Linked DNA regions of Homo sapiens: region 2 is linked to region 1. Evidence: promoter capture Hi-C in 16 types of primary human blood cells and fetal thymus (Javierre and others, 2016). All regions are on one chromosome and are shown on one strand. Each heading gives the region's core, a stretch centred on a gene start or on the middle of the fragment in contact. The rest is flanking DNA. Distances are from core to core; before and after follow the strand shown. Region 1 holds the start of C15orf61 (chromosome 15 open reading frame 61). Region 2 overlaps MAP2K5 (mitogen-activated protein kinase kinase 5).

Evidence for each region. The method cuts DNA at HindIII sites, captures the fragments that hold promoters and counts their contacts. A CHiCAGO score of 5 or more calls a contact.
Region 2: a contact is called between a fragment that was not itself captured here and the fragment with the promoter of C15orf61 in region 1, in 1 of 17 cell types (naive CD4 T cells). The highest score is 6.4, in naive CD4 T cells.

The regions. Positions count from the first base shown.
Region 1 is chr15:67,519,873-67,523,581 of GRCh38, reverse strand. It overlaps C15orf61 (chromosome 15 open reading frame 61), which reads right to left and starts at 2,451. Exons shown (of 2, transcript NM_001143936.2): 1 at 1,988-2,451. The coding sequence starts at 2,333. IQCH-AS1 (IQCH antisense RNA 1) reads left to right here and starts at 1,738. Exons shown (of 6, transcript NR_040052.1): 1 at 1,738-2,063. RefSeq lists enhancers at 2,025-2,144, 2,785-2,864 and a silencer at 2,255-2,604. The HindIII fragment of the contact is 4,154 bases long and covers 1-3,036 here.
Region 2 is chr15:67,744,911-67,748,701 of GRCh38, reverse strand. MAP2K5 (mitogen-activated protein kinase kinase 5) reads right to left here. Exons shown (of 22, transcript NM_145160.3): 18 at 445-471; 19 at 101-133. Among named protein-coding and RNA genes, the nearest start is that of SKOR1, 79 kb to the left of the region's middle. The HindIII fragment of the contact is 1,306 bases long and covers 1,285-2,590 here.

The DNA.
Region 1 (3,709 bases), core at 1,202-3,701:
AGTAAATCTCATTCATTCCAATGGTAAGTTGCTTTTCTTAAATCTCAATCTACTTCTCAGCAGGATACCTAGACTGGTAAACCATCAGTAAAATGTCAGCTTCCATTGAAGGGAAGACGGAGGAGAAAAGGAGCAAATGGGTAAACAGAAATCTTTATTATTTACAAAATGGAAAAATGAATTTGGAAGGGAAGAAGAGGAACAAAATCCTAAGTATAATATTAATAGGATATGTACTTTATCACCCAGAGAGACGATTGTACCTCACAGAATAGGAAAGGACCTATTATCTAATTCACATCCCCTCTACCTTCAGACAAAAATTAAAAATAAACGTTACCAGATGTGTTCACCACTTTAAAATATTTTTTAATTCCCTTTATCAGTATATCCCAATTTGTATTAAAGCATGCATGAGCAAAAAGTTGTCCTTTTTGCTTAACTTAGAACTCTTACTCCCATTTTAGCAGGATTTTTAGAATGTCCAAAAGACCATACAGACCATTAAATCACTCTCCCACATTAATAAACAAAACAAAACAAAAAACACTACAACTGTTGTTTCTTTCAACTTTAAAAGGTTTTACTTTTCTATGTGTGGAATGTTCTGAGTATCCACTTTTTTTGGATGTCTTAATCTCTAAATCTAAAAGAGAGGCCCCTAATCATTAAGGTGCTCTTAAACAAAATGTCAACACTAAAAATGTGACTTTAAAGGAAAAAAAGGCATTTGGCTCATGGTTTACCTATAACTCTCCCGTTATGCTTTTCCTAACCTATTATTCTTTAGGGAAGAATGATTTCTTACTTATGAAAAATGCTAAAATAAACTTATACTTCTCGAATCTAGTTAACACTCCAGTCTTTCCAAATAATTTCGAATTGAATTTCCTAAGTCACCTCACCCTTCAACTTCAACCAACCTCCAAAGTAGTGGGCATGCTCTATACAGTCCATCAGCCAAATAATAAGAGGCATTTTTAAAGGATAACACGTTGCTAAACAATTATCTCCTTACAGGACAGTCCAGTGGAGTAACGGCTCAAAAAGCCCACGACTGACATATGTGTTATTATAAGCACAAATACACAGACTATTTTTAACCTTAATGGACGATCAGATTATGTAATAGTATTAGTAGTACGGCTGCGCAGGGTTTAGTTTTAATCCTGGCTTTAAAAACCTGGCTGGGTAACATGGTTCATTCAGCTCCATGGCTAGATTTTGAATCACTGAAATCTAGATTGATTTTATGCCAGCTATTAGTAAGTTCAAAACATCTTGAGGCCTTCTGTTTTCCCCTGACCTATAAAAGATACACCCATGTCCATGTTCGTACCTCCCTCTTCTGTCATTAAACCAAAAGAAAATAAACACCTAGTGACAGTAAACATCCTCAGGGCGTCTCCATGAAAATATACAAATATTAAAGATCTTTAAAAATCTTTTAGGCCTAGCACCTCAGGAAGCTGTTATGTCTGGTGAAAACCTTTGGTGCTTTTAGTAAAACGAACTTGCCGGGAATTCATACAAAGAAAACAAAAGAAACTTAAAAGAGTAGTTCCAGTTATTGCAACATAAACGCAGCTGCAAAGTGATGTTCACGGGAATGAGTCCTGCCATGCAGTAGGACGGATGTCAACTTCAGAGCCACTTTCTAGGGGGCGTTTCCTGACGCCCCCTGGCTTACTGCCCAGGCCAGGGGTCTACTCTGGTTAACATGGGCAGGACAGGAGGGCGACCCGCCCCTCCCTAGGCCCGAGGACGCGCCCGCAGCAGGCGAACGGCTTCGGGTGCCAGGAGCTCAGCAAGCTGGGGACCCCCTGGGCGAGGAGTACAAAGGACCCCAGGCGAAGCCGGCGCCGGGAGGCAGAGCTGACTCCCGCGGGACTCTACCGGCCTGCGAGCGTTCGTCACGTGCTCGGTGGCTGAGGGGCCGTCCCGGCCGGGCGGGCTTCACCGCGTGGGCGCGGCAGTCGCCACTCACCGAGGTTGACGACCTTGAGCGCCGTGAAGAAGCGGTTCTGCCGGGCCAGGTCCTGCCAGGGAGCCTTGGAGCAGTGGTACTTGATGAAGGGGAAGCAGCCGGTGCGCAGGACGTGGTAGTTGGCGCCCTGCACCGGCCAGTTGAAGTGCGAGAGGCCGAACTGGTCGTTGCGGACGGCGCTGTAGGGCACGCAGAAGGAGGTCCAGTGCGGCAGGCGCCGCTGCAGCAGATGCCGCGTCAGCACCTCCGAGGCGCTGGGCTTGGGGCGGGCGGCGGCGCGCGAGGCCCACGGCCTACACAGCAGCAGGCGGAGCGCGACCTCGTGGGCCCTCCTCAGGGCCTCCATGGCCCGCCGCGCCGGGGACGCAGGCTGGTGTCCGCAGCCGCTGGCGCGCAAGCGCGCCCCCGGGCGAGCGCCGGGAAGGCCAACCGGCGCCGCGCGGGTGCCCGAGAGCCCCCGGTGTGCGGCGGCGCGTGCGCACAGCGGCCCCGTGGCCTCCCGCTGGGGGTGGAGTCCGGGGGATGGGAAGCGTGAGCTGCGCGAGGCGGAGGGTCACCTGCGTCAAGGAGCTGGTTTTGAGTGGCCAGGTGTGACCTCACGCCGTCATTAGTAACTCGGGCAGGGGAGGGATTCGGGGAGGTCTCATCAATTTGGGCCTGAGGAAAATTCAGGTGGAAGACAATTAAATAACTAACCACCTCCGCAAGGTGCAGAACTCAAACCCAAGTCTCCCTCCCACGCCCTGGGCTCCAGGGAAGCCCTTGGGTGTTGTTGTTGAAACAGGACGAGGCGTGACCCCGGGTCTGCGTTGTTTGGTAAGGCCGGGAGCACTTTTGTGTGTAGGTCCTCGCTGTCGGGTTCACTGTTTAAAATTAGTCCCAGAGATTTCAAAATCAAAAGTTTATTTAAAAACCTCACGTGTCTCAGTGCAGCGTCCGAACACACAAAGGCACCTCCCTCTAAGAACCTGGTAGACGGACCAGGAGCCTCTTATCGAGCTTTGTGGACCTCAGTCACCCATTACCAATCCATTACTTTCGGAAAAGCTTTGCTCAAACTTTGCGGCCTCTTGAGGCAGTAACTTACGGACAAAACTGCTTTTAGAAAAGGATTTCCTCTTTTGTCCTAAACTCATTTTGTTTGGAGAGGCCATACATAAACAAGATGATGTGTCTGAAACCACCTTATGTAAATGAGGTACAGTAATTACGCGTTAAGCATCATATAACAATTACTATCGTTGCTAAAAACTCAAGGGGGATGTAGGATAGTATGGCGAAATTTTATATTCCCCAGTTTTTTGTTTTGTTTTGTTTTGTTTTTTTGAGACGGAGTCTCACTCTGTTGCCCAGGCTGGAGTGCAGTGGTGCAATCTCAGCTCACTGCAACCTCTGCCTCCCAGGTTCAAGTGATTTTCCTGCCTCAGCCTCCCGAGTGGCTGGGATTACAGGCGTGCACCACCACGCCTGGCTAATTTTTGTATTTTTAATAGAGACGGGGTTTCACCATGTTGGCCAGGCTGGTCTCAAACTCATGACCTCGTGATCCACCTGCCTCGGCCTCCCAAAGTGCTGGGATTACAGGCGTGAGCCACTGCACCAGGCCTATTCCCCAGTTTTTATTGAACATTGAGCACCCACCAACATATGCCGAATCTTGAACTTTACCTTACAGAATTTGAAGTTGAACTTTACCTTATAGAACTTGAACTTTATAGAATT
Region 2 (3,791 bases), core at 688-3,187, 230 kb before region 1:
AAGGATGTTGGGCATTGTGCTTCATTAGGAAACAAAATATAAGCTTTCCACACCATTAGGAATGACTTTAGGAGTGAAAGCACATAAGACGATGCCTCACCTCATCAACAATGCACTGCAGAAGCTGGAGAGGCTGCAATGGAAAAGAAGAGAGGAAAAAGTATTAGCCTCTATGCAATATCTTTACAGTGGAGTGGAAAGAAAAAATCATTAATGCAATAAAATATAGCAAGATTAATCAACAACAGCAAACTCTTATAAAAACATTGATGCTCAGGAGGTTCTATTATTTCTAATGGTACCTAATCTAATACAGGCAGTTAAAGGTTTGCATTTTCTTCAAAATGCAATTTGCTAAGTTTAAAACAAGGCATTCAAGCATGCAAAGGAAGCAGCCATCAGGAAAAAGAAAAGTGAATTTTTTTCTGAACTCATAAAGCTTACCATTAAAGATCCCTGGTTTTTCTGAATCTGAAAAAAGGCAATATGTAATTAGCATGTCATAATCAAAATGACTCACTTGGACACATTATGATCACTGAGAGAAAATTATTGCATTGCTGGTGGCAATTTGTGGGCATGTGTTAACACAATTTACATAATGAAAATACACAAATGTTAATAGCTCGCTTCTCATTTATAGGCGAAAGTCAGCAGAATGTTAATTTCACACAACACTTTTTAGTACCCTCCAGGTTGTATTAGAATAGGGAGAAAAACCATAATCCATTTCAAAAGGCTGTTTACGATTCAGATATAAATAATGTTTTATATTGCTAGATTGTGAACACTGGGCTTAATGTTGCAATCATTGCTAATGTTACGAAGCTCACTCTTTTTAAATTAAAAACCGATTTATTTAAAATTGAAATTAAATCATAGTCAGAAATTAGAATTTTGGATTCCTGCCAGTGTCTGCTCACAATCCCCTATTTTGTGAGGAAAACTTTAATTATGTAGTTGAAGTATTTGCACCTAACTTAGGAGTGGGGTAACAACTCCACCTTTTCCAAAGTTCCTTCTGCCTGTTTCCAGGGCAGCAATGCTCTCTGGGAAAATCAAATTCATGGAAGTTTCACACTGATTTTTAGGGAATAAATGCAGAGTCCAGTAAGAGCGCATTTCTGATCAACATTCTGAAGGCAGGCTGCTCACACATTTAACACTGATAAACTGCATTTCTTACAAAGCTACTAAAACGTGACATAAAAATTAATAAAACATCCACTTAGTCATTAAAGTACTAAACACTTCAGTGCCTCCCCATCCAGGAAAAATAAAGCTTACAGTTATTATAAACTCAATGAAAATGAAACTCCAGGTACTACATTTTCTAACAGAGAACTTTTCAGGAACCAAATACTGATGGGTCAACTGTTTTCTGAGATAACTGGGCTCCAACCAGCCGGTAAAATACAGGGAAACTAGTAATAATCCCTTATATGTTTTTAAAGGTGTTTTAAAAAATTCTTTCCCATATACAAACTCATTTGATCTGTACAACCACCCTGAGTTTGGCAGGGATGATCATCTTTATTCTATGATGGGAAAGCTGGGCCTATCAGAGGACAGTGTCCGGGCCTGAGGCCTCAGCGCCAGGGTGTGGTGGTGCTGGGGCTCCTCCAGAGCTCCTTTCCTTCCAGCATCTGTATTACACTTGCCTATGATCATAGAGTTATTTGAAAACAACTGTATTTGTATACATTTATACTTGGTATGGTATTGTTGATAAATTATCCATTTTGACATGTTGGTTCCTCTCACCTAGACTGTGAGTTTCTCAAGAGCTGCAGCTATGTTTATGCATTTCTTTTGCATCCATGTGGCTGATCAGCACACCCTTCTTCCTACTGCCTGAGTGTTTTAAAAAGTGTTTTCCCATATATTTGTCAAATGAACACGGCGCCCACTCATTGCTCTTATTGGCTTTTCATCACTTCCTCCCCAATCACTACTTTCAGAAACCTCTGTCCCAGGTTGACTGGCTTAGTCTATGTTGATAGTCCCTGCTTGATGTTGTCCTGAATTACTGCTTCTTCTGGTTTCTCCAGTCCATGAGTATTTCCAGACAAGATTCTGCAGGTAAAGATTTACATTACAAGGGAAGGCGGAGCTGTAACCACCACCCGGAAGTGGTTAAGAATTTCAGTAACAAGCCAAACTACCTTTAAAAAAATACTGAAAAGCCTGGATAACCTCTCCTATGACATGAGATATCTATGGAGTTTGCTTTTATTTTTTTTTCAAGCACACACTGATACTCCCCCCACCCCTACATTCCTAGTAAGATATATCTGCTTCAACAACGGAGTTATTTGTAATGAATAAAGAATCAGAAATCCATTTCTGACATCAAAGAGAATGTGTTTCACAAATTTCCAAGAGTCAGGGGGATGACAACATTCTCTGAGGAGAACATGCAGCAAACATTCTAAGTGAGAGGTTTTGAAATGAATTCAGAAATGGATTATGAAACACTGTCCCCAGAAACATATGAGTTGTGTGAATCAGATTAACTGAGGGGAGGAAACTTCCTCATGAACTGAGGTCTTAAAGTCTCTAGTTTGCCCTATTTTGCAGGTTAAAAGCTTAGTCTAAGTCAACTTAAAACTGTACTATTTATGCTTGCTCTTCATTAAAAGAAAGAGAAAAACAGCAATATCAAAGTCTTTTTTTATAATCTTATAACTATACTGTTTTGCCCAGGTTTTTAAAGAGAGACGTTATCAGGTTTTATTATACAGTTTTGATAGCAACATATTATATGAAATCATCTTCATAAATTTTGTATTAAGGTAACAGTGCCAGTACCTGAAATTGATTCAAAATGCTTAAGATACTCAATTACTTTTTAACAGTTACACAATGCAGTGACTTATATCTTCTATTTCACAAGAATTTGATGATGCAACATCATTGTAATTGATTCATTTTCTCAATTAAATAAAGCTACTGTGCTTTTCTTTATATGAATGCCACATAGACCATAGAGTTAGATGTATTATCTCCTTTTTCTGTCTCAGATATATTGCCATAAAGGCTGTATTATGTTCCTCTGTTAATTCCACCAGAAAATTTAATGCCACAGTCATATTTTTAAAATTCTGAACTGCCATGTACTCGGCTGTATTTATATTAGGCATATTTTTCACTGCTAAACTCTTTGTTGTTTACCTTTTTCAAGATCACATTACTGTATAGGCACAGCAACCATAAAACAGATCCAAACAGTCAACCTCCAGTCATTGCCTCTGCTTTTGCACACAGTTCATGAAAAAGTGAAGCCCCTAGTTTATAGCACATTAAAAGTGGAACCAAGGGTCCTCAATATAAAATGTTGGCTTTGTGAATGCCTATCTTTATTCTGGGTCTGCCTTCCAAATGCTTAGCTGTGAGAGCAGAGTTCAGAGGAACGCAATAATATTGTTAGGGCTGATGTACTGCCTGCACCTCACAACATATGAAATGCTGTTTATAACTAACTTGTCCAAGCCCTCATTCCTGCTTATACATTTTGCGTGTGTTGAGTGTTTTCTATGTCTAACTAGTACTTTGGGACAATGAGAGAACAGTAATTGTTCCAGTCACACACTTTGTTAATCAGTCTCTAGAACTAGTTGCATTTTGATAGATGAACCTCTTCCCTTTTCTGGGCATAGATTTTTTTTTTTCTTTCATTAGCTGTTAGATTCAAGATTTAAAACCACACTAACAGGGGATAGTTACGTCTCATTCTGATGTAAGGCAGACTCTTATGTGTTTAAATGGGGAAGAATGACTTCATAGAAGGC